4 separate regions of the Homo sapiens genome follow, and regions 2, 3 and 4 are each linked to region 1. The links are contacts of gene promoters, found by promoter capture Hi-C in blood cells and fetal thymus (Javierre and others, 2016). All regions are on one chromosome and are shown on one strand. Each heading gives the region's core, a stretch centred on a gene start or on the middle of the fragment in contact. The rest is flanking DNA. Distances are from core to core; before and after follow the strand shown.

Region 1 (7,771 bases), core at 1,972-4,471:
TCTCCTTTTTCAGTAAGAATAAATAACCCTAGTCAATAACAAAGTGTTTTTTTGTTGTTGTTTTTTTTTTTTTTTTTTTTTTTTTTTTTTTTTTTGTGGGGTGGGGGCAGGGGAACAGGGTATCTGTCATTCAGGCTGGAGTGCGGTGGCAAGATCATAGCTCACTGCAGCCTTGAACTCCTGGGCTCAAGAGATCCTTCCATCTTGGCCTCCCAAAGTGCTAGAATTATATGGGTGAGCAATTGTGCTGGCCCAAGGTGAAGTTCTTTACAGAGGAATTTCAGCTAATTAAATGTGAAAGGAATAAAAGAATCAGAAAATCAGTTTTTGTAACCACTAATGAAAGAAAAAATTCTTTTGTGAAACCACAGATGAAAGTTTGATGGGAACCTTTACAGTGGAGAAACCAGACTGTCTTCCTAAACCCACTGATCAATACTGGCATCACTAAAAGTGGAACAACCAGACCTCATGTGTTCCCTGTTGTGACACAATGACAAAGACAGCATCACCTATGGAGTATTCTTGCCAAAAAAGGTGGACCGCAATCTAATTGTGTCTTTATGGCTAGGTTCTATTTAGAGGAAATATAACAGATAGGGAAATAAATTAAAGGAACATGAGGAAGCAAACACGTATATTCAGAATGTGGGCTACTGGATAAAACAACTGGCTTAGTTTAGCAAGCTAAAAACATGAAGTCAAAAAAGAAAAACACGGTGAAGGAGGGGCTGTTTTCAATTAAGAGGGACTTAAACAGACATAACCACCAAATACACCGTATGAATGTTCCTTGGATCTTGGTTAAAACAAACCAACTGTAAAAGCAGATTTTTGACACAATCACAGAAATGTGTTTATGGAATGGGTGAGATAATAGTATTATGGTACTCCATGTAAGAAAACATCCATATTTTGTTAGATGTACACTTAACTATGTAGGAAAGAGTTGGTGTGATACCTGGGATATTCTTTCAAATTAAAGAGAAAATAATAAGAATAGGAAAAATATCCAACCCCTAAGATGTGCTTTCTCAGAGTTAAAAAAAAAAATCATATCTAAGCTTTTGAATTTGGAACACAGAAGGGTGGATATCATTTTTTAAATTTGCTTTTGTTATTCTCCACAAAATCCTCCAAAATGTTTAACATACAGCAGCTACTCAAAAACTACTGACATATCAGAATACCTTTTATATATTTATGAGAATTCACTTCTATCATGTCTCAATTCTTATTAGTTTCCCTTTTCTACCACCTTAATCCCTTAAAATGTTGAGATATACCTAAGGGTTCATTTTCTACCACTTAATAATGTATACATTAATTTCAGTAAATTTTTTAAAGGCACCCCTAAATTTTTGTTTTTAGAAATTTATGAAAGGCAACACAATTGTACTTACATGAACAAAACTGGTAGTAATTACAGAGTTCATATTTATGTTAAAAAAAAATCTGAGTGCTTATTCTGTACCAGGCACTATTCCAAGAGTCTTGCATGTATTAACTCATTATTAAAACAATCCTAAGTAGGAGGTACTATTCTTATTCCCCATTTTATAGAAAAAGCATAAAAAATAAAAGCAGGCTGGGCGCGGTGGCTCACCCCTATAATCCCAGCACTTTGGGAGGCCGAGGCGGGCGGATCACGAGGTTAGGAGTTCGAGATCAGCCTGGTCAATATGGTGAAACCCCGTCTCTACTAAAAATTAAAAAATTAGCCAGGCGTGGTGTTGCGCGCCTATAGTCCCAGCTATTCAGGAGGCTGAGGCAGAAGAATCGCTTGAACCCCGGAGGCAGAGGTTGCAGTGAGCCAAGATCGTGCCACTGCACTGCAACCTGGGCGACAGAGCAAGACTCCATCCAAAAAAAAAAAAAAGTAAAAGCAACTTACTCAAGGGTCCGTAGCTAAGGTATAGCAGTAGTAGGATTCAAAGACAGGCCGGCTCCAGAAACCCAGGTCTTTACGATTACACCGAGCTGAGGCACAATCAGGCATCACTTACCTGCTGCTGTTGTTTATCTACTCATTTCCAGCATTAACAGCTGACTTTCATCGTTTCCAAGGTGCAAAATGAAAAAAAAAGTAACAATGAATAGTAAAACTTACCTTTTGAATGGCCTCTTCCATATCCAACTCAAATTGTTCATTTTGTAATAATCTGAGAAATTGCTTGCGCTGAACACGGTTATCATTTTCATTCTGCACCATTTGATTCCTGATTTGACTGTTGACGTTTTTTAGAGCTTGGACATGTAATTTTTTGCAGTAGTTTTCATCTACTAATTTCTGATGCCTTTCACTACAGCTCAAATTTCTCCTTTTGGAACCCTACGATGGAAGAAAAAAAAAGATGCATATTTTGATATTCCAAAATCTAATTTTAAAAAATGTATTGATATAAACCTTAGTAAGAAAGGATACGAAGAGCCTGGCTTCCTTCCTAAATTCAAAGGAGTATACCGAATAAAAAGTAAACGTGGTAAATATGTTCACATATCGATTAAATAGGTACTGTTATTATTACCTATTTTATAGATGAAACATGAAAAGTAACTTTACCCAAGGTTCTGCAGCTAATAAATAGCTGTGCTAGGATTAATCGCACCCTACAGACCCAGATCTTTACTACCACCAGGGAATTTCTCCTCCCCTCATTCCACCCACCACCACCACCACCACGACTACCACCACAGGGCCATAAAGTGCTGTTCAGAAGCTGGTCAGATTTTCCTAACATAAATGTAATAGGTCAATTCGCCGCTATTTATCAATTCGCTTTCTCCTACACTTTTATATCTACTTATTTCTTCAGAGGTTCTATTGGGCAGATTTAAAGATGTATTTAATACACTATGCGAAAAGTGCCAAAAAAGCTGGAAACCACCGCGAGCGTCCCTTCTAATAGCACCTGAAGCCTCCGAAAGCAAATACAAGTTCCCCAATTAATGACCAGATTAAGCACTTAAAATCCTTTTTTAGAAGCAGATGAGCGCCAAACTAGAATTAAATCAACAATAAACAAGTAGTTTCAAGTCCCCCAACTGGCTCACCATCTTGGCTGACGAAAAATACCCCCTCTCGTGGGACCGCGGCCACCACCTCCCGCCGCAAACGCAGCAGCCAGCAGCCCCAAGGAGCGCACCTGGCTGCGCGCGCTCGGGTGTTTACGCGGCGTCTTGGCAACGGTGGAGCTGCGCGCCCTCCGCTCGACCAAAAGTGACCCACGCAGAACGTGGCCTCCCATTGGACGCGATAAGATACAATCGGCATTGAGCTTCTTAGGACCAGGGCAGGAGGGCTACTTCTATAGGTCTAAACTAGAAAAGCGGGAAGTTCAGACTGTGGCCTGACCCAAGCACTTTGCAGTGGGCTAGGGAAGCTCGATTTCCCTCCAGCGGCCGAACTGTGGTTTCAGTGGGTTTGGGAGCCAAGTTCGGGACTGTGGAGACTGCGCACAGAGAAATACGCAAACTACTGCCTAATGCATGGAGCCGAAGGAAATTTCCACGCATGGAGCATCCCGCACACTAAGTGCCTAGTCAGCCAGGTCTCTGCTAGGGACGATGACTGGTTTAATCCTCAGCAATGGGAGTCCAGGTCGCTGTCCCCTTTGCTGGGTTGTGAGGCACTGAGGGTAGCACGAGCTTCCAGCAGCCTTCACTTCACCCCCCCGCCCCCCCCCCCCCCCCGCAGAAGCTGCTGGTAAATTTTGGGACTAAAATCTATGAGCCACATGAATCTTACTCTGCTATGTGGTCCAGGTACCAAGAGAGAGCACGTTACATGATGGCAGGATGTTGATCTGGTTCATTCCATAGGCAGGTTAGACACTAAAGTCCATTTTAAATGGGAAGTTTAAGAATGATAATGGATCAGAGAAATTAGATATACTGATTTTAGAAATGATACATTCAGAGAAATCTTGTCAACACTAAAATATTTGTATAAGGTGATTAGTGGTATAACTTTGTGTTATTCTAATTTGGAGTCCGTCTTCTGTAGCAATATGTCTGCTTAAAGATTAATAACAAATGGGACTTGCAGTTTCAGTGCTGACGTGTAAAAGCTTGGAAGTTGTCACCCCATCCTTACAACCAGATCAAAACAACTAAAAATCAGCGACTTCTCTTGGTTCCATCATACAACTGAGGTCGCTCGTCTCTCTGTCCTTTGGTCATTTATCCCGTGGTTGCATATCTATGTTGTCTCTAGTACTCCACTCATTGCCATCACTGTTTGAGAGAAATGGAGAGAAGGCGTAAACCTGCCCTCTGGGTGTTCTGTGTAAATTGATCTGGAATGGAGCAAAGCAGGCAGCCTGCTATAAATTTCTCTTCTTGGCATATCCATCTCCGCAAAGGGTTGGGCACTGTATAGAAGAGACAGGAGACAGGCATGGGTTCAGGGTTGAACAGGGTATAACACATTCAATAGAGTGTGGGGTTTAATTTGTTAATTCCTAATAGTGAAATAGTGACATTGCAAAGTATTTCAGCAAACATGTATGTTTTTTACTGTTTACTTCTCGAAATGAAGACTTTCGTCTCTAAAGGGAACTTCAGTTATAATTCCTCATTTCCAGTATACCCTTGGATATGGTAGAAGGATTCATATAATTTCATAGGTAATCTGAGAAAAAGATTTTTGGCCAGAATATTGACCTAAATCCAAGACAAATTTAATCAATTGTAACAATTAGCTGATTTTAACCTTTAAAAAATTATCCTAACAATTACTACATTTTTAATAGACTTTGCTCCTTTTTCGAAGCAGTTTTAGGTTTACAGAAAAATTGACAGAATACAGAGAATTCCCCGTCTCACCTCTCCTCCCCACCGCACCCATACAATTTCCCCTATTTTTAGCATTACATATTAGTGTAGTACATTTGTTACACTTGACGAACCAATATTAATATGATTAAGTTCGTAATTGACATTAGGGTTCACTCTTTGTTTTGTACAGGTCTATGAGGATTTGTTTTGTTTTTTTTCTGAGATGAAGTCTGGCTATGTTGCCCAGTCTGTAGTGCAGTGACATGATCTCGGCTCACTGCAACCTCTACCTCCCAGGTTCAAGCGATTCTCCTGCCTCAGCCTCCCAAGTAGCTGAGACTACAAGCAAATTTTTGTATTTTTAGTGGAGACGGAGTTTCACCAGTTTGGCCAGGCTGGTCTTGAACTCCTGACCTCAAGTCATACACCCACCTTGGCCTCCCAAAGTGCTGGGAGTATAGGCATGAGCCACTGCTCCCAGGTGGGTTTTGAGAAATACATAATGTCATGTATCTGGCCAGGAGTGGTGGCTTGCACCTGTAATCCCAGTTACTTGGGAGACTGAGGCAAGAAGGTTGCTTGAGGTCAGAAAATTGAGACATATTGTCATATATCTATTATTACAGTATCATACAGAATAGTTTCACTGCCTAAAAAGTCTCTGTGTTCTACCTATTCATTTCTCCCTCACTCCTTCCTCCCAAACCCCTGGGAACCACTAATCTTTCTATTGTTTCTATAGATTTGCCTTTTCCAGAATGTCGTATCTTTGGAATCATACAGTATGTAGCCTTTTCAGACCGGCATCTTTCCCTTAGCAAAACTCATTTAAAGGTTCCTGCAAATCTTTATGTGACTTGATAGCTCATTTATTTTTATCACTAAATAACATTCCATTGCATGTCATTATTAAAAAACAATTATTACATTTAAATATTATTTCTAGTAATAAATTATTACTATCATAAATGATACTTCATTGTTAAGGGAGGACTTATGCCTTCCCAACATTACAAGGAAGTCTTCTCGTTCATTTCCCTCTAGAAAACAACTTTTTACCTACAAGTCTAGACTAAAATGTCTAGAGTACTGAGGGGAAGGAGCTTTTCCTTATAATGGATGATGAATTATACTGATTAATGTCCCCCAGTAGTTACAATATAACAGGGTTGAACTTAACAGAGTTGCTGATCTGAAATAAAGCATGTTAATAGATGTGCACTGTTAAGTGTAGCTATACAGTAAAAATTATTTACGAAATGGTATTGCTTTATAAAATAAAGCAATTAGAACAAAACAATTTTTCTTTCGTTCAGAAAAATGCCCAAATCTAATCTAATTTGCTGCAGCTGGACACCACCTGCAGATGACTGTTGAAATACTCTGAACATTACACACTTATCTTTTAAATATTGATAATGCCATTCTTCATTTTCTCGACATGAAATCCCAGAGGGAACAATTATGCTAATAAACCTTAATGATTCTTGCAAATAAGTGATCAAACCAAATTGCTGCTGTTGATTTATATTAATGGATGCCTTTAGGATGAGATTTGCTAGTATGGTGCTGCCTCTTGAATCTCAATTCATCTTATTTAGCTGAAGAGGGTACATAGTTTGTTAAATAGATGAAGTGTTTAAAATATAATGTGCTTGTGCAGTTTCTGCACTTCATAATGTTCAAGTATTACCATCTTGCCTTGTGGCAAATCTGCATTTAATGGTTTCATTGTATATAACTTCCTTTAGTACTTTTTCTGTCTGTCATATGCAGTTAGGAAGTGACTACTTTCTGGTTGATGCAGAATAGGCTAACTTCCATATATTGAATTTGATTGTTTCATTAAGACAAGAAAATCTGTTTCTGGATATTTTAGCCACCATAATCTGGGAATCATATGGACTGTGTGATGATGTGATCAAGTGCTAAATAATTGTTAGGGGTAAAGAGACATGAAGAAATGGTTGGTGAGCTCACTGAAACCCAGGCTTAGTGGATGTCTTTCGTTCCTCGTCTCTCACTTTCACTTTTGCTCTTGCATCTTCACTATGTCTACAGGAATAGGAGATTGCTGACTTCATGAATTCTAGCATAACACTGAGAAAGAACTACAGAATTGTAATATATTGATTTCTAGGGTTGAGAACACTACACAGAAAGAATGCTTATTCATTGTAGATATGAATAAAAATTTACCTGGGTAATTTTATTGAAAAGCCACTATTTGTAAATGAGTAGTAAAATAGAAGACTGGCATCTACATATTATGTATATAGGAATGGAATACAGAATTTGTGATGTCAAATAACTTGTGATGTCATTAGGAATTTGTTATATGATGCACAGAGACTGTAATTTGGCTAGCGGTGAAGTAAAGATGACCATATTAAATTCATCATGAAGAGTGGAGGAATCCCCTTCTGAATTATATAAGCTCTTATTGGTAAAAAGAAAAGTATACATATATACCTATATTTATATAGAGATATATACATGTGTAAACTATGTTTATATGGATTTTTTTCATTTCTTAACTTTAAAAAGGTACCAAATTTGATGACATTTGATATATTTATGGCAATTTTTCTAGTGAAAACTTAACCAGACCAAAAATTTTAAACGACTAAAGGCACGATTTTATTTATTGCAAAATTTTCTAATTTAGCAAAAAAACAAAAACAAAACACCACAAAAATGGGTGATCTAAACATGCAGTGTTTAGGGAATGGCTAATTAAATTGTGGCATATCAGCTATGTACCTAGAGAAGTGTGTCTGGAGGGCCAGAGGGGCCAGCCCAGAAGAGGCAAACTGTGGAAAACCTGAGCAGCAGCATCTTGGGAAAGGAGAATAACTGGGCACTCAGAAGCTGGGCACTGACTCTAAGGTCCTAGGGAAAAAGAGGAACACAGCTGCCCTCCATGGGGAACAGCAGATAAAGAATGTGGTCACCAAGGAGGGAGAGCCAAAGAGGCTAAGCTTGCTGTGAG
Region 2 (7,771 bases), core at 1,405-3,904, 470 kb after region 1:
ACATTTTATTTTCTACTTGCTACCACAAACATATCTGTAGTAATTTAAATATGTTTTCATTAATCATTGAGTAAAACTGAAGTTCTAAAGTTGCATCATTTTTGGGTTATGGCATTACCTTCCTCCTGTTTTGGTTTGTATCTTTGGGGATAAGGGTCAGGGTGGAATGGAATGCTGGCCAATCCTTAATGAGAAGCCCAACTCTAGAGCATATCTTTAGCTGTATTTTTTCATGCACCTTTTCTTGCTCCTATAGAAGCCTGTAAAAAGGGATCATTACATCAGGGGGAAAAATGGTTTTGGTAGAAAGAAAACTGTTATTTTCATAAACTGAAGCACAGATAGTTTTGTTAATAACATGACTGTTATTTGAAACTTTCTTGTTTCCAGCCAGATCATTCTGTAATTTTTAAAGATACCCTTGACTTGAAAAGAAAATGTAATTTTTATAGAGAGAGCTTTGGTTTTTTTTTGTTCCATGTTTAAAATGTGCTCTCATGTGTTCCAGGTTAAAAATGTGCTCTCATAAAGACCATGGTGAGTCATCCAAGCTACTGTAAGCTGCTTGGGGACCTAAAGATCACATTTAAAGATCCCACAGAAAAGAAAATGCATTAGAGATTGGTTACTAATTTTTATTGCAGTGGGTGGTGACTCAGGGATGAAACCTTCAAAATAATATAATAAAACAATTTGAGATAAGGTACAGGACAGAAAATACTACCTTTTTTTCCCTTAAAAAACCACTACTACCATAACTTACTGTATTTTGGTTATTAAAATTGGGATAATTTGGCCCAAGATGTCATTTTATCAGCTCTGTGGTGTTAGGAAGGTGCCTGAATTTGAACTGAGGGAGTTTCTCTAAATTTGTGGTAATCTATGGAAGATCATTCTAGTTGCCAAATGGAAGTCTCTCTGGAGGCGGCCTCCCTCAAAAGTTGTCAGTGTATTTGCTTCTGTTAGTTTTGCCTGTGAGCTATTTCCAGGCTTTAAAAATGAACAAGATTGACTCATAATTACTCTTTCATCACTTCATTGGTAGCTGATACAGTGAACACAGGTTGGACTTAATATAATCATGGCTACTCCAGTCAGTGAGTGAATGTGCTGCTGCTGTCGGCAAGAGTTGTGAATGTTGGTTGGGCATGGAAGGTATCTCTGCTGGGAGGGAATTACAGTCATCCAGCTTCTTGGTCCCAGAGGCATATGTTGTTGTTTTGAGGTGGTTGGGGATGAATAAGTGGTTGGTTTGTACCTTTGGAGTGTAAAAAATGCTAGGCTCACTTTAAACAGTAGCGTGGTTTGACCACAGGTCAGTTTAGAAAATCTGAGCTTATATGGGCACTTGTGCCAAGGGTAAGAATCTTTGAGTTCTCCTGCAGGATCCTTTTAGGTTTTTCCTATTTGGAAACCCCACTATATCTAGCCAACTTTGTCATGTGGTCCGGAGGCCCATTTACTTAATCTACTTGGTACTGACATACTCGGATTTTAGAAAATGTTTTTTAGTGTTATTCTCAGTTGGGAATAGAGTTAAAGGGAAAAGTGTTTCATGTTGAATCTCTTGATAGGAACATATAAGTTAAAATGATTGTAACTTTCCAATTAGGTAGATAATTAGAGGCATTGCAAGACTGTTCTAAGTATCCTTAATATCTTTTATCTAAGTATCAGCTAGTTTTTTTTTTATTCTAGGTGATAGCATATTTTATTTGTCAAGATCCCCTTTTCCCAGTTAGAGATCCACAGTCCCTTATCTGCAGTTTTGAAATCCAAAAAGATCTCAACCACAGTTAACTTCAGCATGAAGTATTTTGATGGCTAAATCTGATCTTATCTGAAGGGAGGCCATTGACATTCTCTATTTTCCTAGTTCCTGTGTGGTTGCCAGTAGCTGATTTGTAGCGTGTGACATATATACCTATATACTATGTTTCCTTTCTAAAATCTGAAAAACTGAGTTCTAAAACCCACCTGGCCCCATGGATTTTAGAAAAGGTATTATGGAGATCTGTCTCTCTCTCTCTCCTCCTCCTCTCCCTCGTTCCTTCACCCCCCACCCCAGGGATTGTTTTCAACTCACAGTAAGAACTTTTTGTTCTCAAAAGTCTCAACTAGAGACTTCATCATTTTAAATACAGAAAAAAAAATTGTGGTGGACTTGTTTATATAAAGCAAATTCTTCTTGGAATATAAGCTTTTCAGGCTGAGTTTTATTCTTTGAGTAGTCCACCCAATACATTGATTTAGGGAATCAAGATCTGTTTTGAGGAGAGAGAAGCTTTCTCATCTTTTGGGCCAAGGAGTGTGCTGATATTTCTCTGGTCAGTTAAAGCATGCAGAGAAATTTTCAGGGTAAAAATCAGGAGTGTAGAATTCTTTTCATTTGGTCCCCATTTTGTATATATAAGAAGCATTATATGATCTCTACCATAAGGAAGCCTCAGCCCTGACCATACTTTTTTGAATTTTTACTGAGAGCAAACAGTTAAGAAAATCCTAATCATCTTCAAGAAGAAAAAGTAGAGCCAAGATACTTTGCTGTAGGGAACAGACAAAATCAGTCTTTGGTAAACTTTATTCTTTCCTTTTATATTGGTGAAAAGTTTTCATAGATTAGTAGCATGATGCTTATTCCTGAAATATACTCATTACAGGCATCTTAATTAAAAACAGGTTATGATTCTGTTGAGTGTAAAATTTTCCTCAGGAGCTTGTTATTGGCTCAGACCCACTACTGTTTAATATAAACTAAGAAAGTAGTAATGAAGTGTGTAATAAACTAGTTTGCTGTAGTCTGTTTTGAGAGGTAGACCAGTAAGCCATTGACTTTTCTGGTGGCTTTGCAAGCCTGTTGCTTGTACTGTTGCTAGTGTTATTGTCTTAAGAACCATGATACAATGTTGAATAATTAAATCCACTTAAAGTTTGTAGGGGTTTGAGATGCTGTACTGCAGGAACACAAAACATGCCATAGTGCCAGGGTCTCTCTTGCCTTCATATTTGTATAATCCCTCTTCTCAAGCTTAGGAACAGTGCCTGTAGCGAGCAGACTCTATTCTCACTGAGTTTGACTCTGGAGACTTGCCAAATAAGTTATAATAGCAGTAGGACTTTGTCCACTGAATGATTGGGAGAAGGGGAGGAATCTTATTGTTTTAAAACAAAATCAGTGATGATAAGAGTGCTTCATAAATATTTACTCATATGCTATTTACTTCATAACTCTTGTAGGAAGTTGGTAACTGTTCATTTTACAGAGGAAATAGAGAAATCAACAGTGAAATACATTTGCCTGTGGTTTCTTATTGCCCCTCAGAAGTAGCAAACTCTAATCAGTTGTAGTTGCACCTGCACTGATACCAATCTACAAGAGCATGGTTTGTCTTGAGGAGGAATTTAGTATCTCTAGAAATCTTTGAAATTTGTTATAATAAGAAGTCTTATCTGAAGCCAAGGTGACAAGAAGAAAAAAAGAAGTCTTAAATGGGGTACTGTTGATATTCTCCAAAAGTGCTTCAAGATTTATTTATTTAATTATTATTATTATTATTATTTTGGGAGACAGAGTGTGGCTCTGTCGCCCAGGCTGGAGTGCAATGGTGCAATCTCAGCTCACTGCAACCTTTGCCTTCCGGGTTCAAGCGATTTTTGTGCCTCAGCCTTCCAAGTAGCTGGGATTACAGGCACCTGCCACCACACTTATTTTTGTAATTTTTGGTAGAGACAGGGTTTCACTGTGTTGGCCAGGCTGTTCTTTAATTCTGCCCACCTTGGCCTCCCAAAGTGCTGGGATTATAGGTGTGAGCTACTGTGCCTGGCCGATTTATTTTTATTAAGGAGAAAACAGTATAATTAAAAGCCTCCATAAAATAGTTAATTAAGGACTTTATTTTTAGTATTTCAAGACATTAAATATAAATAGCTACAACCTCAGATAGCTTTATAAAAGTGTAATTCTTTTTTTGTGTGGTCTTATTGTTAAGCTGTCTTTAGACTTTGTGAGTTGGGAAGAATATGAAATTTGATAGTTGGAAGATATTGGAATATTCACAGCTACCATTTAGTTGAGGTCAGAGAAAAGAATGGTTACTTCATAGTATGGAAAATTTTTATTATTTCCCCTTTTTCAAAGATTTAGTGTTTAGTTATAAAAACAAGTTAAAGTGGATGGAAAATATTTATTCCAAAAGTAGTTTAAAAATGTTATCAAACATACAGAAGATACTTTAATAGAACAGAACTTTTAATTCATTAAATGAAAGGTAATAATGCTAATATTGAAAGGGTTAAGATTAGTTCATTTTGTATTTTTATTTACTTAGAAGTAGATTGGGCTGTTGTTTTGTTAAAGAGCATCTGTAGGTATTTGAGCGAGTACCTACTAATGCTCTGTTTTTTGTTCTGTGTAGAATGGTTTGTTTAAGGTAGTGGAAAATAAAGATACATTGTGGTATATTTGAAAGAGGAGCAGTTTGGAGATTCGAAGTCTTGCTTTAGTGTTGGCTTTATTATTTACTAGATATGTGATCCTAGGGCAGAATATTTTAACCTCTCTGAGTCTGTTTATCTTATGTCTAAGATGAGGACAATAAAAATACTGCCTGAGGGTGTTGTGATAATGAGCAGATTAAAAGTTTTTATGGAAATTCTAAAATGTGGAGGTTTGTGGTCTGTACAGATATTAGTTATTAGGTGGCATAGCAAGTCTTGAAAGGGATTCCAAGCTTTTCATATACATATGGAGAGAGGGAATCTTCATATAAAACTTAAACATTTCTGATGGTCAGTTATTGAAGATTAAATCAGGTGACTGAGAGGAACACTAGCCTATGGAACTCCTTATAATTTTTAATATGTAATTTACATATTATTTTACATATAAATATATATTTCATCAGAATGAAATATATATAATATTTGTATATAATTCATCAGAATGTCAGAATTCTGATGAATCATCAGAATCTCTTATAAATTCATCAGAATCTCAGAATTGTTTGGATGAGTCTTTTTGGTTAAATGGGGGAAATTGAAGCACTAAAGTAAAATAAATCCTCAGACATAGTCTTTGTGAGGATTCTGTTAATTGTATTCCAAACCATAGAGCCCCCATATTAGTGCCCTTCAGTCCTTTATTCTCAGCTCAGTTTTTAAAATGCTTGTTGAGGATCTGCTGTAGTGACAAAGTTAACCCCAGGCTTAAGTATGAATGTGTGACAGCTGAATAGTTCCTAGGAATAGTCTGCTTCTACTTTGTACTGATAAGCAGTAATCTCAACAAAATTTTAGTGACACTAAAGAGTTAACGTTTTAAAGAGTTAAAAAGTTCAGATACACTTTTATACTCCTGAGTGAGGAGGAGACGATACAAAGAGGAGGTTATGAAACGCTAGAGAAACTCTTGTCTGCTGTAAGCTTATGCTTGAAGGAAGAAAGTCTGACTTAGTCATATCCATGAATGACAGGACTTGGATCTGTCTGCTGATGACGCTGCTGTTTCCTGGTTCTTCGTGATTAGGACTTTGTGATGAAGATGCTCCTGCAGCATCCAGTATTGTCCCTTTCCATTTAGAGTGTCTGTCTGGGTATATAAAATAGCTGTCTTACCTTATATTGGGAAATATTGGGATTTTACATGACTTCCTAAGTATCTTATGCGATTGTATTGTTTACAAGTTTTTACATTATTTTGAAGAAGGGAATTGACAAATCCAAAGTAAGGAGACTACTGGGTTCCTTTGGAACCCAGTGCCGGTAGAGCCATTGAGGTAGCTTTGATGGAGGTCAGTGTACTTGTGGCCTTCATAGGAGCTATTTGCTGATTGTTCTTCAGAATAAGACATTAACTGGGTTTGGGAGAAAAGGGTCATGGAACGATTTGACAGTTGCGTGACTGGACTCAAGAAAATTTTGGGGCTTCTGTCTCAGCTTCTCTCTTTGTAATAATTCCTAATGCTTTCTTGAAGATCTATCTTAAATTGCAACGATGAGAATAGCTGGTAGGTGAAACAGCAAAACTAAAGACCTTGGAAACGGATAGTGAGGGTTCTTGAATATAACTTCTAAGAATCTTGGGGCCAAGTGAGGTAGCTTATTTTTCTCTGTAGCTAATTGCTTGCTGTGTAATCTGTTGCTTTGCTACTGGACATTGCAGTAGTCTCCTTACTTGGTCTTCTTGCTGCCAGTTGCTCTCTTTTTCCAATCTGTCTTAGTCTGCTTGGGCTGCCATAACAAAATACCATAGATTTGGTGGCTTACACGACAGAAATTTATTTTCTCACAGTTTTGGAGGCTAAAAGCCTGAGATCAGGGTGCCAGCATGGTCACCTTCTGGTGAGGGCTCTCTTTCTGGCTTGCAGAGGGATACCTTCTCACTGTGCCCTCAGTGTATGTGTGTGTATGGTGGGAGGGTCTCATATGTGCCCTTTGGTGTCTCTCTTTTTTTAAAAAAATTTTTTGTTTCCGTAGGTTTTTGGGGAACAGGTGGTATTTGGTGACATGAGTAAGTTCTTTAGTTGTGATTTGTGAGATTTTGGTGCACCCATCACCCAAGCAGTATACACTGAACACAATATGTAGTCTTTTATCCCTCACCGCCCTCCCACCCTTTTCCCTGAGTCCCCAAAGTCCAAGGTATCATTCTTATACCTTTGTATCTCATAGTTTAGCTCCTGCTTATGAGTGAGAACATACGTTGTTTGGTTTTCCATTCCTGAGTTAACTTCTCTTAGGACAATAGTCTCCAGTTCCATCCAGGTTGCTGTGAATGCCATTAATTTGTTCCTTCTTATGGCTGCACAGTATTCTATCATGTATATATATACAGATTCTATCATGTATATATATACAGTTTCTTTATCCACTAGTTGATAGATGAGCATTTGAGCTGGTTCCATATTTTTGCAATTGTGAATTGCTATAAACGTGTGTGCAAGTATTTTTTTCATATAATGACTTCTTTTCCTATGGGTAGATACCCAATAATGGGATTGCTGGATCAAATGGTAGTTCTACTTTTAGTTCTTTAAGGAATCACCACACTGTTTTCTGTAGTGGTTGTACTAGTTTACATTCCCACAAGCAATGTAGAAGTGTTCCATTTTTACCGCATCTATTATCTTTTTATTTTTTTATTATGGCCATTCTTGTGAGAGTAAGGTGGTATTGCATTGTGGTTTGGATTTGCATTTCCCTGATCATTAGCGATGTTGAGCATTTTTTCATATGTTTGTTGGCCATTTGTATATCTTCTTTTGAGAATTGTCTATTCATGTCCTTAGCCTACTTTTTGATGGGGTTGTTTGTTTTTTCTTGCTAATTTGTTTGAGTTCCTTGTAGATTCTGGATATTAGTCCTTTGTCAGATGTATAGATTGAGATGATTTTCTTGCACTCTGTGTGTTGTCTGTTTACTCTGCTAACTGTTCTTTTGCTGTGCAGAAGCTCTTCAGTTTAATTAAGAGCTACCTCTTTATCTTTGTTTTTGTCACATTGCTTTTGGGTTCTTGGTCATGAAGTCTTTGCCTAAGCCAATGTCTAGATGGGTTTTTCTGATGTTATCTTCTGGAATTTTTAAAGTTTCAGGTCTTAGATTTAAGTTTTTGATCCATCTTGAGTTGATTTTTGTATAAGGTATGAGATGAGGATCCAATTTCGTTCTCTTACATGTGGTTTTCCAATTATCCCAGCACCATTTGTTGAATGGGGTGTCCTTTCCCCACTTTAGTTTTTGTTTGCTTTGTTGAAGATCGGCTTTAAGTATTTGG
Region 3 (7,771 bases), core at 1,606-4,105, 430 kb after region 1:
GAACCACTCCTCAGTCTACCACTTCCATTTTAGTTAGGTTTGCCCCAGAAGTACATTTATATTCACTCATTCCTATATGTATTTGTTTATGGATCTATCCTCAAATAATTTAGTATTTGATTCAGTAAGGATCCATTGGTTACAAGTGACATAAAATCCAACCCAAATTGGTGTAAAGTGAGAAGGGAATGTATTCTCACATACCTGAAAAGTTGAAGATAGTTCTGTTAGATATGGCTTGGCTGAAGAGTTCCAATTATATCATCAAGATTCAGATTCTCCACTTGAACCTGCACAGAGGTTGCAGTGAGCTTGAGATTGCACCATTGCACTCCAGCCTGGGTGACAGAGCAAGATTCTGTCTCAAAAAAAAAAAAAAAAGAGAGTCAGATTCTCCCCCACATGTTAGCGCTCTCCTCTGCTGTTTGCTTCATTCATTCCACAAATGAGCAACCAGAAGCTCCAGACCATCCTCACTACTAGCAAAGGTCAAGCGCCCATTCTTTTGTCAGCCAATCACTGTAGCCAAAAGAATGAGATGCTCAGATTGGCCTGGACTGATTCACAAGCCCATCCCAGGAGTTGTGTCTATCAGTAACATATGAATGGCACAGATGATTTTTACTTAAAATAGGGGTATGGTTATCAGAAGAAGCACAGATGTGCCCTGGGTAATGGAAACAGCAGACACAAACACATCCCTGGTATTTTATTGAGGTCTCCAAACATTCTTCCCCTACATATGCCTTCAATGATATCTATGGCTACTCAATGTAACAATGTTTTTTTACCACCCAAAATGTACTCACATCTAGGTCCTACAAATAACTCCAAGTCCAGGATAGTAAGGTGATATGCATGCCTCTATATCATAAAGCAATTTGATAAAGTTCTTCATGGCCTAGTAACCTAAGGCTGTATGATAAAATTAACTAGAAAATACTTAATATATAATGACAGAAAAAAAGAACAACTGCAATGAAAATGCATATTTGGAAATATGAATAATGACAAACACAAAATGTCTCTAATTCATAGCATATGTCATATCTTGCTAGACAGGAATAGCAAGGGCTTCCTAACATGAGAGGGGAGAAAGTTCTTTGATCAACCAATCTGGCTGCCATATGTTCTATTTCTGGAGGACCTCTCATTCATTGTTCCTCCATGGCTATGTCTGTAATGGACAATGGGAGGATAATCCTTTAGGGACTACACCTCTTCAGCATTCTCCTTCCTGATCTAGTGGGAATTGAAAAATCACTTCCTATGGCAAAGATAATTAGCTTTTACCACCCAAGAGTTGTGAACCTCTTCTGTTGTATACAATTGTTGCTGGGAAGTAGCTACCTAGCCAGGGGCTACATTTCCCAGCCTCCTTGTTAACTTTGGTAAAGTCACATGACTGTCTCCATTGGAATATGAGTGAAAGTGATGTGTACCACTTCTAGCCAATTTGGTTAAGTAGTAGGTATGCCTTTGCCAGTCTCTTTTTCCCTCTTCTGGCTGCACTGAAAGGTCTCTAAGAACCTGGAGGACATTAGAGCCATAAGATAGAAGGAGTCTGGGTAGTTGAATGATTTTGTAGAAGACCACCTGCTACTTAGGGGCACTGATGTTAGACTTTACAAAAGTGAAAAATAAATATCTATTGTGTTAAGCTTAAGTAACCTAGCCTTTCTTCTCCACACTTAGGATTTCTCTCACAGTACAATTTTCTTTAATTCTTTTTTTTTTTTTTTTTTTTTTTTGAGACAAAGTCTTGTTCTTGTTGCCCAGGCTGGAGTGCAGTGGTGCTATCTCAGTTCATGCAATGTCCACCTCTCGGGTTCAAGCAATTCTCCCACCTCAGCCTCCTGAGTAGCTGGGATTTCAGGTGTGTGCCACCACACCTGGCTAATTTTTGCATTTTTAGTAGAGACAGGGTTTCACCATGTTGGCCAGGCTGGTCTTGAACTCCTGACCTCGGGTGATCCGCCTGCCTCGGCCTCCCAAAGTGCTAGGATTAGAGGCATGAGCCACTGTGCCTCGCCCAGTTTTCTTTAATTCTTAGTAAACTTCTAGTCTATTTGCATCTGGCCAATTCCATAGGGGGAGAATTCCAAAGCCAGAGGGTTTTTTTTAAGCTTCAGTCTTTGAATCTAGATTTTCATCTGAGCATTTTTGTCTTTTAGTAATAGGCCTTGGTATTCTAACTTAGAGGCCTCTATTTTGGTTTCTGCCTGATAACAATTTGAAACAATAGCCACTGGGTTTGCAAGGGGAGGGAGTGATGATGGTGTGTGAGCTGGTGGTGGAGGGAGTAGAGTGGAATAACTATTACCTTTCTCAGCAGGCAGGAATTGCTTGAAAGAGGCCTGAGTGTATTAAGACTTCTCCCTAGTGCCAATGTTATCCATTCTTGCCTTCATTAACATTAACATCCTCTTGGGGCTTTTTCAACCCTTTATGGCTCCAGATTATTGATGTTTCTGTCATCTTTTATTGCAGCCTATAAGCAAAAATGTTCACTTGTAACAAAGTGGTATCTTTTCCTCTCTGCCTTAGATAAATCAATCTTAGTCCTAAGTTTGAGCCTTTCTTAAAGGACATTACTAAAAACTAACAAGTAATAGTTGATATATTTTAGTATCCGACCTTTTAACAACAGGCCCTTTTACATTTTATCCTTGATAGGCACATGTTCTGAATCCCACTATACAACAGGTGCCAGTTTAACCTACTGCTTTGGTATCGAAGTCCCAGCCTGATACCAATGAGGCCTCATCTGAATCAGCTACTTCAACATTTCTGGATCTTTCTGTTACTAATCCCCATTCCTGGTATCAATTTATGAATTGTTAGAGCTATTTTAGTGAAAAACTAGTTATATATTTAGCTTAAGGCATAGTTTGATCCAAGGGCTTAAGCAATGTCATTAGAATTCTATTTCTTTTCATCTCTTGACTCTGTCTTGTGTGCTGGCTTCATTTTTAGGCTCCATGTGGTGGCTGCTGACAGCTCCAGTTTACATAATCCTTACTGTTAGCAATCTCAGTGGAAGAGTGCATGCTTCCTTCCCACAGGTGCCAGCAATAGTCTTCTTACATTTCACTGGCTCTGATTGGGATATGTGGCTAGAGGAATCCAGTAGCTCAGGTCTGATTCATGTCATTAATGTTTTTGAAAATGAAGTTCACTCCACCCAAAAGACATTGACTGAAGTAACAGAAGAGGAAAATCAGGGGATGGTTACCAGAAGAAGGGTGAATGTTAGTAAGAGGCAAACAAACGGAGTATCTCATTAGATGACAATGTGTAGTGTTTCCTAATTGCTTCACATGTGTTGGTTTTATCTCCTTCACTGGGCTGACTGTAAGTGTCTCAAGAGCAAGATCATGTATTATATGTCTTAACAGTGCCACCTCAGCAGGCGGTCCTTAGATACTGGCTGATTTATGGCCTCTTCTTTTATTACTAAAGATGGCACACTCTAAGAAGGTAACAAGAGCTTAATAAAGGGATAATTTATAGAGGGATGGGAATGGTTAAGGGAACCAACAAGGAATGGTAAAGTACTTAAGGACTGGCAACAATGGGAGACCTTAAGCTTGAAGGAACAGGGGAGGGGAGCTATTAGTGGAACCCTGTAAGAGCTGTAGCTTGGAAAGGGATGCCTGACAAAGGCTGTTACTATAAATAAAGAAATACAGTCACTGCCAAAATGTGGCCCAGCAAAGGACCGGGGAATAAACACTTGTCCTCTTTTCCTCCCATCCTCCAAACTTCTGTTGGTACCTCCCATTGACCAAACCAGAAACCAGAGGGCTTGTGTGGCACAGTCTGTAGAGTTCAGCTGCCAGTAAAAAGCAAGACAAATAGGGTAAAAAATGGATCTGTAGGTGCAAATGGAAAATTGCCAGGACACCCCTCTTATATTCCTTGAGCAACCCTAAGTACAAGCAATTCCTATTCTGTAAGTATTAACCATATAGACTGGATTTATCTGGAAAATATAACTTTACCCTTTTCAACAGACTTGTTAAATATATAGCCAATGTGGTTTGATTTTAATAGCATTTTAAGACTTTAACATTCATGAATTCATAAAAAGTCTTTTGTTAGCCCATGTAGTTGAAAAGGTGTCGTCATTGTATTGATATGGAACTCCTCAAGAATATTGTACCTGGCAATCCATCAGAAAGTCCTGGCACAGCACTCGTCAGAGTGACAAATTTGATAAATATTTGATGATTTGAAGAATGATTAAATGAATAAATTAAAGCATTTCAAGCCAGAAGACTGTAAGTGGAAAACTAGATGGGTTTTCCTTGTTAGAGGTTGATAATAACTATACAACATCTACCAATCCTGTCCCGTAAAGCCTGACCATCAGCTTCCTAGCTGTTGATCAAGATCTTATCTCTTACAGAAAATAGAACCAAATAAATTTTGTCAATCTTCAGAAGTTTCATAATTAATTGTCATGCTAATAAATTCACTATAAAGTCAATTTCAGTTAAGGGACTATTATATTTCCTATCTAAAACTCGGTTTCCTCATGGAATTGTCACTCAGATGTAAGAAAAATAAATATACTTGCTTCGATATGTAAACTAGGACTATAAGTGCCAGTCCAAACTTTCTCTAAAAGATTTTATAGTTAAGCCCAAAATCTATACCGCTGTTCTTTCACAATCCTGTGTATATAGGACTTAAAGTCCTATACTTAAAGTCCTGTGTATGTAAGACTTAAGTTTACAAAATACTTTCTTATGTGGCACCATTCATTTATTCAAACAAAAAATACTACTGAGCACATGCTATGTGCCACACGTAATCCCTGCCCTCAAAGAACTTACAATAGAATAGTACTTCTTAAACTTTTATGAGACTGTGAATCACCTGAGAATCTTGTGAAACTACAGATTCTAATTCGCTAAGTCTGGGATGGGCCCTGAGACTACATTTCTAACCAGCTCCCTGGTGATGCTGATACCACTTGGAGTAGCAAAAGTCTAATGGATTTATTTAATCTTCACCACAACCACATCATAGGAAAAGTATCAGTGTTTTGTTTCTTATCTGGAGCACTTAACTATATACAAACACTGTGCTATGTCTTTTGTAGATAAACAATTCAGTTAGATATAGAGATATAGGCTTTTAGGAAACTCACTATACAGATGCTTCTCCACTTATGACGGGATTATATTCCAATAAACCCATTTTAAGTTGAAAATATTGTAAATCAAAAATGCATTTAATACAGCTACTGAATGTGATAGCTTAGCCTAGCCTACCTTAAACATCCTCAGAACACTTATACTAGCCTACAGTTGGGCAAAGTTGTCTAACACAAAGTCTATTTTATAATAAAGTGCTAAGTATCTTGTGTAATTTATTGAATACTGTACTGAAAGTGAAAAATAGAATGGTTGTATGGGTACTCAACAGTAAAATTTCTACTGAACGTAAATCACTTTTGCACCATCATAAAGTCAAAAAAAATCCTAAGTGGAACCATTGTCAGTCAGGGACTGTCTGTATAGCAGAAACAGCTAGTGTAAAAAATAGTTATAATTGTATTATTCTGTTTATATAAGATGTCCAGAAAGGGAAAATGTATAGAGACAGAAGGCAGATTGGTGTTTGCTGGGCTAGGGGTGAGAATGGTGATTAACTATAAATGATCATGAAGGATCTTTTGGGGGTGATGAAAATGCTTTTAAATTGGATTATAATAATAGCTGCACACCTCAATAAATTTACTAAAAGTAATTGAAATGTACACTTGAGTGAATTTTATTATATGTAAATTATACTTCAAAAAAGTTGTAAAATAATCATGTATAATGTGAAAAAATCCAATAATAAAAACATGTCTTAACTCCCTTTCACAGCCAAGGAAATGGAGCTCATAGAGGCTAAGTAATTTGCCCAAACTCATGTACATAACTAGTTGGTGACAGGGTTAGCATATAAATCTAGTCCTATTAAGCCAAAAGCAGTCGTTGTCAGAAACCTCTCCAGAGGAGGCATAGAAATGTATGCCAGGGAATAGATACCCTTCCACCTAGAGGGCATTTGCCTCTCTCTCTGAACCCTCTTCACTCTGTGAGGCAAAGATCAAGCTGAGTGGTGACCTAGGTGGCATTCCATAAACATAGTGCATCTGACGGGGCTGTGCAAGCCATCTAGCTTCTGGCAGACCCTTTGGCTTCAATGGGGTTTTTAGTTTCAAGCAACAAAAATCAATCCTGCATGATTTAGCGGCAAAGGAATTGGGTAGCCCACAGAATCATTATGTGAGTTGAGAACCAAGCTCAAAGTGGTGCAGCCAAGACCAATGCCCAAAATAATGCTGCAGAGGCAACCCAGTGAGAAGATTACTATTACTAATGCTGCTGAGCATGCTAGACTCTGCTCCTTTCTTGACCAACACCACTGCTTTGGGAACTCAATTTGGCCACAACTGCACTGTTGCAAGAGAAAGAGAACTGACTGCTATCCTTGCTTCTTTGGGTTATTAGTTTCTGACTCAAAGCCATGCAGGTGCTTCTAATTAGAGGAGGGTAGCTCAAGCACCTGAATCCAAGTTGCAAGGGGGGATGGTGAAGTGACTATGTGATGACTTCTATCAGTTTCTAGAAAGTGAGAATCAGGCTTTACTTCTAAGACTCACATACCAGTGAATTCTCCAAGCTTAGACAGTTCAGATGCTGGGCAGCTGGGAAAACAAAACAAAAACAAAAATTCCCCCCAAAACAGATATCCACTGCGTCATTGCAGAGTGGTCCATGGAGCAGCAGCATCAATATCAAATGGAAGCTTTTTAGAAATGCAGAATCTCAGACCGGGCGTGGTGGCTCACGCTTGTAATCCCAGCACTTTGGGAGGCCGAGGCAGGCAGATCACGAGGTCAGGAGATCGATACCATCCTGGCTAACACTGTGAAACCCCGTCTCTACTAAAAAATACAAAAAATTAGCTGGGCGTGGTGGCGGGCGCCTGTAGTCCCAGCTACTCGGGAGGCTGAGGCAGGAGAATGACCTGAACCCGGGAGGCGGAGCTTGCAGTGAGCCAAGATAGCGCCACTGCACTCCAGCCTGGGCAACAGAGTGAGACTCCATTTCAAAAAAAAAAAAATTAAAAAAATTAAAAAGAAAAAAGAAATGCAGAATCTCAGATCCTGTTCCAGATCTGCAGAATTTGGATTTGCTTTTGATATGGTTTGGTTGTGTCCCCACCCAAATCTCATCTTGAATTGTAGCTCCCATAATCCCCACATATCACATATCACACGTACCCAGTGGGAGGTAATTGAGTCATGGGGCAGGTTTTTCCTGTGCTGTTCTTGTGATAGTAAATAAGTCTCATGAGATCTAATGGTTTTATAAAGGGCAGTTCCCTTGCACACGCTCTCTTGCCTGCCACCGCGTAAGACATGTCTTTACTTCTCCTTTGCCTTCTGCCATGATTGTGAGGCCTCCTCAGCCACGTGGAACTGTGAGACCATTAAACCTCTTTTTCTTTATAAATTACCCAGTCTCAGGTATGTCTTTATTAGTGGTGTGAGAATGGACTAATACAGCTTTCTAACAAGCAGTCAGGTGATTTGTGTAAATATTACAGTTTGAGAAGTGTTACTCTATATTATAAGACATATTGTTTTAAAAAAAATTTTCAAGGATCACTCATCATTATGCTCTACTCATCCGTAGGGTTACTAGATTTAATGCAGGACATGGCACTCAGTTAAATTTGAATTTTAGATAAGCAAGGAATAATT
Region 4 (7,771 bases), core at 1,532-4,031, 400 kb after region 1:
GAGGCCAGGAGTTCGAGACCAGCCTGGCCAACATGGTGAAACCCCGACTCTACTAAAAATAAACAAAAATTAGCAGGGCATGATGGTGAGTGCCTGCAGTCCCAGCTACTTGGGACGTTGAGGCAGTAGGATCGCTTGAACCCAAGAGGCAGACGTTGCAGTGAGCTGAGATTGCATCTCAAAAATAAAACAACAAAACAAAAATATGTATATCTATTAAAGAAACAAAATTTTCAGTTAAAAACCTTCCCACAAAGAAAACTCTGATCCAGATGGCTTTATTGGTGAATTCCACCAAACATTTAATGAATGTTACATTCATGAATGAACAGTTAATGAATAATTCTAATTCTTCACAAATTTCCAAAAAATTGAAAAGGAAATACTTTCCAACTAATTCTGTGAGTTCTCCATTACCCTGATATTAGAACCACACAGACACATAACGAAAAAAGAAATTTACAAACCAATATCCCTCATGAACACAGATGCAAAATGCTAAACAAAATTTAGCAAATCAATCAATATTTAAAAAGGATAAAACATCATGACTGAGTTAGGTCTATACCAGGAATTCAAAGTTGTTTTACTTTCAAAAAAATTATATAAGACACCATATAAACACTAATTTAAAAAGAAAAGCATATGATAGTCTCAATAGACACGAATAAAGCCTTCGAAAAAATCCAACATCGGTTTCTGATTAAAAAAAACTCTCAGCGAACTAGGTATAAAAGAGAATACTCAATCTAATAAACAGCATCTATAAAAACAAAAACAAAAACCTACAGCTAGCATCATACTTGTAAAAATTAAAGCTTTCCTCTAAGATTGAGAAAAAGACAAGTATGTCTGCTCTCACCACCTCCATTAAACATTTAACTGGAGGTTGTAAGCAAGAAAAAGAAATTAAAGGCATCCAGATGGAAAAGAAAGAAGTAGAACTGTCATTATTTGAAGACAACATGACCATCTATGTAGGAAATCCTAAAGAATCTACAAAACAGGTACTAGAACTAATAATGAGTTTAGCAAGCATGCAGGATACAAAATTAATGTATTAAAAAATCAATTGTATTTCTATTTACCACTAATGAACAAGTGAAAATAAAAAAAAATTAAAACAATATCATTTATAATAACACCAAAAACTAGAAAACATTTAGGGATAAATCTGACCAAAGATGTAAGAATCCTGCATACTGGAAACAACAAAACATTACTGACACTGATTAAAGAAAATCTGAATAAATGAAGAGATATACCTTTTTCATGCTTCAGGAGGCTCAATATGGTTAAGATGTCAATTCTTCCCAATTTGAGCTGTACATTCATTTCCATCTCAAGCAGGCCTTTTGGCAGAATTTGACAGGCTGATAATAAAATTCATGTGGAAATGCAAAGGATCTACAATCGCCAAAACAATTTCAAAAAAGAACAAAAAATTTGGAGAGCTAATGCTACCTGATTTCAACACATATCGTAAAGCTACAGTAACCAATACAATGTGCTATTGATAATAAAGATTGACAAAGAAATCATTGGCACAGGATGGAGTCCAGAAATAAAACCATGCATACATATATAGACAACAGATTTTTGACAAAGGTGAAAAGGCAATTTAGAGGAGAAAGTATACTGTTTTGAACAAATGGTGCTAGGACATGGAAGAAATATATATAGCCTTGAATTGTAGAGAGTTTCACAGGGCATGTCAGATTTGGCAGATTGGGCTACATAAAAATTTAGAATTCATGTATGGAAAAGATAACCTAAACTAACTAAAAGATATGCAATATATCTTTCGAAGACAAGCTATATTTAAAAGATATACCAACAGGCCAGATGGCATGGCTCACCCCTGTAATCCTAGCACTTTGGGAAGCAGAGGCGAGTGGATCACATGAGGTCAGGAGTTCCAGATCAGCCTGGCCAACATGGTGAAATCCCAGCTCTACTAAGAAATACAAAAAATTAGCCAGGCAAGTGGTGCATGCCTGTAGTCCCAGCTACTTGGGAGGCTGAGAAAGGAGAAAGGAGAATCACTTGAACCTGGGAGGCCTGAGGTCGCAGTGAACCAAGATCGCGCCACTGCACTCCAGCCTGGGCAACAGAGCGAGACTCCGTCACAAAAAAAAAAAATTAAATTCCATAATCTATCAAGAGTTCCTGCAAATTACTAAGTAAACGACAAAGAACATTAACAGACAAATCACTGGAAAAAATATAAATTTCAAATAAACCAATAAAAAGTTGTTCAACATCATTAATAATTACAGAAGGCCAATTATTTTCCCACAATCTTATTATTGAAACTATTAAATGTGGATAACACTCCCCCAAATCCAGACCAGTTATTTAATATGTTTTAGGAGTAGGTTGTCACTTCTCTAGAAACAGGAACAGAAACATGATCAAACTTCTGCTTACATTTGTCAATATGACCTTGAGAAAAGAGTATCAGCGCACTGCATTTCCATGCTCCACTCTGGGCAACAACGGAGGTAAACAAGATAGGCCTCCAGTCCTTGTCAGCTGTAATGTATTGTCTCAGATGGACTTAAAGGCATATTTTCTCTTAATTCAAGGGAAGATGACTCACCTTTCCAGAGTGGTCTGTCAGTGACATGCTATGCTAGAGACTTTGCATTAATTATTTCTTTTAATCTCTACCACAACCCTGCGAGGTTTTTATGGATGAGAAAACTGAAGACGCTATGTTAGCATTCCCCAGCCTTTTTGGCACCAAGGGCTGGTTTCATGGAAGACAATTTTTCCACAGATGGGGGAAAAGTTTGTCCATGGCCCAGGGATTGAGGACCCCTGCTCTACATAACCAGCGATATACTTCAGTGTCCATGTTTCTTTCCACTGCATCCTAAAGAAAGGAGTTCTCCTCTAGGTGGGGGGACAGACTAGAGTGTGAAAAAGGCCCTAAAAGACACTCAATAGATCAAAAGTATAACAATAAGTAAAAGTTCCACATAAAATGCTGAAAACAATTTTAACCTTGCATATGTCTGTGATAAGCACTGATGTTTATGATGTTATTTTGTGTTGCAATTTTAAAGTGAAAAGAATGCTGGTGTTGGCAATAGGCAGACCTGGTCTCAAACCCCAGCTCTGCTGCTTACCAGTGGTGTAATCTTGGTCAAGAACCTGATTCTCCACACTGAACTCTGACTTTACATTGTCACTATTGAGTGCAATGTATAATCCTATGATAAAGTTAATCATCATTTGACTTGTTTGGGGGTTAGTTCCTGTGACTATCTTTTCAAACAATATTGAAAATTGTGAGCAGCTGTAAGACAATCACTTTGTGTCACTGACAACACTTAAAAAGTTACTTGTACATTAAGAGTTTAACACACATATTTATTAGATGAATATTTTATTAAACCCAAGACAAGATAGGTTGACAATACTAAGAGCTGACAAAGACAGGGGAAGGCAATCTGGGTAGGAGAACAATTTGCCAGTGATTACTAAAAAAAGTGCTATAAAGAATAAGACCCAAATGTCTGCCATACGTCCTTTCACACCTTATTTCATGCCTCCCCAACCCAGTACCTTGATCACTTGACTTTATTTCAATCCTTTGGATTAAGAGAAAACAACTTAAGAACAGGGATTATGTTTTATTCGTCCTTGAATCTTCAGAAATAGCATAATAAGGTGCTCAGTAGATGACTGTTGAAGTGAACTGAATGGTAACTTAAGAAGCAAGAGATTATTATATGCAGAATATTCATCTCAAGAGGGAAAGCTAGTTTTATGTATTTTCCATTGTGATTCTTTTGTAAGTAGGGAAATTCTATGCCAAGGACTGAAAAAAGCACATCATAAATCATGGTTCAGTCCATCTGAGTACTGTTTTAATTTTAGCGCAGCATGTGTTGAACTTCAGTGCTCTTGATTTACACATTCCTAATGCAAATATATCAAATTTTCAATTATTCAAGGGTGAATTATCAAATTTGTAGATTAGCTAGGCTTTATGCTTATTCTACTCCCTTTAGGTACATAGGCCTTTGGGCGCCTTCTCCTTCTTCCTTGTGCTTGAATGGCAGTGGGATTAACTCATTAAGAATAAAGGAAACATCTGTGTTGCTTAAATGACAGTGAGGATCTTGTAGAAACTCAGTACCACCTGTATGTAGTTCTATTACTGGTCATAAATTCAAATAAAACTGTCACAGTATTCAAAATTCAATGGATATTTCTTGAAGTAGTTCATCAGAGAACAATTTTTCCTCATGTCAGAGAAAGAACTAAATGAAGCATTTTATTTACAATAATAAAAAATGTTATATTGATTCAAATCACCGGCAGTGTCCACAGACACATGACAGAAAGCGGACATACACGTCGTGGAGATATTTGGCCAATCACATTTATCCCAGCTTGACTATGTCTTTCATTTAGTGACAGGAAATCTACTATCAGCCCCTATCACTTCAATGGTCAATTAATTAAATATTTTGATTCTATTCACATCCTTTGCTTTGAGCCACTTGTAATCATCTCATAGAGGGAAGAAAAAGCAATCATGTTTATAAATTATGAGCATTTTCAACACAGTTGAATGTAATTTATTCTTTACTTCTTACGTTTTTCTATCACTATTAATACTTCATGTAGGTGTGAATATAAACCTTGATGCACACAAACACATAACTCCCAGTTGAATGTCAACACCTTCAGAAAGAAAAAAAAAAGACTTGTATAAGGAAAACAATGGATAAGCTTTATGTGTGTGTGTCATACAGTGAATGTATATAACTACACATACATTCATGCATTAACGATAGGGATGCATTCTGAAAAATCCCTGACTAGGTGATTTCGTCATTGTGTGAACATCATAGAATGTATTTACACAAACCTAGATGATATAACCCACCACACACCTAGGCTATATGTTATAGCCTATTGCTCCGAGGCTTCAAACCTGGACAGCATGTTACTGTACTGAATACTGTAGGCAATTATAACACAGTGTAAGTATTTGTGTTTCTAAACATAGCTAACCATAGAAAAGGCATAGTTAAAATGCTGTATTATAATCTTATGGGACCACCACCCTAAACACAGTCCACAGTCCATCATTGACTGAAATGTCATTATGCACACATAACTTTACGTGAAACAGAAAACAATGAATTGTGAAGAAAATAAACAAAGTAATTGAATGGTGGGATGCAGAGCTACCATGTATAGCTGCATGGATTGTCCACTGCACAATTTCAGGAACAGCAGTCACTCTGACTACCAGGTGGATGGCGCCCCCTGGAGTTGTACAATATGGCAGTCTTGGTGAACTTTTTTTCTTTGGGATTTAAACATTTGGGTTTATCAAAACGATTAGACTGTGACCACAGCTTCAGGTCACACTTCCTAATCTCCTAGCATCCTTAGAAGTGACTTGTTCTCTCACAAGCTGATGTGGGAAGGAGAAAGAAAAGTGGAAAGGATAGGAAAATGTATCTATATAGAGGTAATTTGACAATAACAATAGCTAATATTTTTTGGAACTTTTATTAGGTGCCAGGTGTGGTTCATCGCACTTTGTACACATTAACTCTTTATTTAATTTTTTTTTTTTCTTTTGAGACGGAGTCTCGCTCTGTCACCCAGGCTGGAGTGCAGGGGAGCTATCTCGACTCACTGCAAGCTCTGCCTCCCGGGTTCACGCCATTCTCCTGCCTCAGCCTCCTGAGTAGCTGGGACTACAGATGCCTGCCACCATGCTTGGCTAATTTTTTTTTTTTTTTTGTATTTTTAGTAGAGACAGGGTTTCACCATGTTATCCAGGATGGTCTCAATCTCCTGACCTCATGATCCGCCCACCTCGGCCTCCCAAAGTGCAGGGATTACAGGCGTCAGCCACTGCGCCCGGCCTGTACACATTAACTCTTAATCCTTATAACCACCCTAGTGGTAGGTACTATTCTTATCCACATTTCACAGATAAGGGAATTGAGGCTCAGAAATGTTAAATAACTGGCCCAAGACCATGTTGCAGTAAGTGGGGAAGATGTCAGGTAGGAATGAGAGAGCTGATAGACTCTTCTCCTTTGCAAAATTGTGACTATCAATTGAAGGTCAATTAGAGGCTCCTTTTATTTAAATTTTTATTTGCTCTTCCTAATATAATTATTTTTATGGGAAAAAGCAGTCTCTTAGGAAGATCTATCTTCAATCATAAAGTCAGATTTGGGCCAAGTGCAGTGGTTCACGCCTGTAATCCCAGCACTTTGCAAGGCCCAAGCAGGTGGATCACTTAAGCCCAAGAGTTCAAGACCAGCCTGGGCAATATGGCAAAACCCTGTCTCTACCCCCACCAAAAATACAAAAATTAGCAGGGCCTAGTGGCGCACACCTGTAGTTCTAGTAACTTGGGAGGCTAAGGCAGAAGGATCGCTTGAGCCAGGAGGCAGAGGTGGAGGTTGCAGTGAACCAAGGTCGCACCACTGCACTCCAGTCTGGGCACCAAGTGAGACCTTGTCTCAAAAGAATATATAAATAATAAAAATAAAATCAGATTTAAGAATGAAAGAAAAGTTCCAAATATAATTACTGACAAAATAATAATAAATCTCCAGAATAAGCCCCCAAATTAAAGTATAAAATGTCTAGGATTACATTTACATTTAACACAAATGCTAAAGGGATAAAGAATAATTCTTAACTGATTAGCTAGCACTTTCTGCAGATGTCTAGCTTCTAGAATGAGTAAACAGAAATGTTAGGAGATGAGAAAACATCACAGAGGCACTGATTAAAAAAAAGAAAAAAAGAGCAGTAAATAAACATAGGGAGAAGCAGTCACAAGAACTTCCACAACTAAAGGAAATGGGAATTGGGGTAGGCCATGGTTGCTAATACACAGCACAGGAGACCAAGAATATTTCTATAGTGAGTCATCGGCTTTTGTATACCTAATTGATTCCTTGTTTCATAACTTCCAGATATCTGAATTTCTACACATTCAACTTACTATATAGAATCATATTCATGTTGAAATGGCATCAACTTTGCATGAAATTTTAGTTTGAAAAAGCAAATGAATAAAATTATGATGTCAAATGCAGTAAGAAATTGCAACAATGGTCTTTGTGTTTTTGCTCTCACTGCCCACTCCAATGCTGCTGTGTTCAAATAAATTATTTCAGCAAATAAAATATTTAGAGCTATAAAGGAATATGGTAAAGACAAAGATAAAATACCATTTGTAATATGACTACTATTAAAGCTCTGGCTTGCAGATTGCTGGCAAATAGTCTATTTTCCAGCTTGTCAAAACAACCCATTCTCTGAGCATGTTCAGAGCTTGCAGAGGTCTTCATTTATACCAGAATGGGAATTGGAGAAAGAAAAACATTTTGAAAATGATCTGCAGAATACATTGTTTTGTAAAATATCTAATCAAATGAGAGCAGCCTGTCAAAGTCAAGAAATGTTACTTACTCGGCTACAATAGGTATGATGCAGAACTGGCCACCCACTCACCAGCTGCAGAAAATGAATTTAAAGTAAGCTGGTCATTTGTCCTCAGACAAAGTACAACTGCCAAATATTTTATCCCAATTTGTCATCCCTGCTCTATTCCAGTGAATTCCATCAATCCAAGGCCAGTCACAGTGTTTAGTCTCTCCAGAACAATAAGCTTAACCCAACAGGTTTATTTGTTTAAGTCATCTGGTGAAATCTTTTAAATTACGCCTTGTTTCTAATACCGCTTGTATTTTGCATTCACGTAAGCTTC

Evidence for each region. The method cuts DNA at HindIII sites, captures the fragments that hold promoters and counts their contacts. A CHiCAGO score of 5 or more calls a contact.
Region 2: a fragment that was not itself captured here is called in contact with the fragment with the promoter of MNS1 in region 1 in 1 of 17 cell types (fetal thymus); the score reaches 8.1 in fetal thymus.
Region 3: a fragment that was not itself captured here is called in contact with the fragment with the promoter of MNS1 in region 1 in 1 of 17 cell types (fetal thymus); the score reaches 6.1 in fetal thymus.
Region 4: a fragment that was not itself captured here is called in contact with the fragment with the promoter of MNS1 in region 1 in 1 of 17 cell types (fetal thymus); the score reaches 5.4 in fetal thymus.

What each region holds. Positions count from the first base shown.
Region 1 is chr15:56,461,916-56,469,686 of GRCh38, forward strand. It overlaps MNS1 (meiosis specific nuclear structural 1), which reads right to left and starts at 3,222. Exons shown (of 10, transcript NM_018365.4): 1 at 3,055-3,222; 2 at 2,111-2,332. The coding sequence starts at 3,057. RefSeq lists a silencer at 3,152-3,401 and an enhancer at 6,725-6,774. The HindIII fragment of the contact is 3,006 bases long and covers 1,063-4,068 here.
Region 2 is chr15:56,929,023-56,936,793 of GRCh38, forward strand. The region is part of intron 3 of TCF12 (transcription factor 12); the gene reads left to right. Among named protein-coding and RNA genes, the nearest start is that of TCF12, 14 kb to the left of the region's middle. The HindIII fragment of the contact is 744 bases long and covers 2,283-3,026 here.
Region 3 is chr15:56,889,810-56,897,580 of GRCh38, forward strand. It overlaps TCF12-DT (TCF12 divergent transcript), which reads right to left. Exons shown (of 4, transcript NR_015419.2): 3 at 205-358. Among named protein-coding and RNA genes, the nearest start is that of LINC03065, 6.6 kb to the left of the region's middle. RefSeq lists an enhancer at 2,042-2,601. The HindIII fragment of the contact is 1,463 bases long and covers 2,125-3,587 here.
Region 4 is chr15:56,864,483-56,872,253 of GRCh38, forward strand. No RefSeq gene overlaps it. Among named protein-coding and RNA genes, the nearest start is that of LINC03065, 19 kb to the right of the region's middle. The HindIII fragment of the contact is 3,931 bases long and covers 817-4,747 here.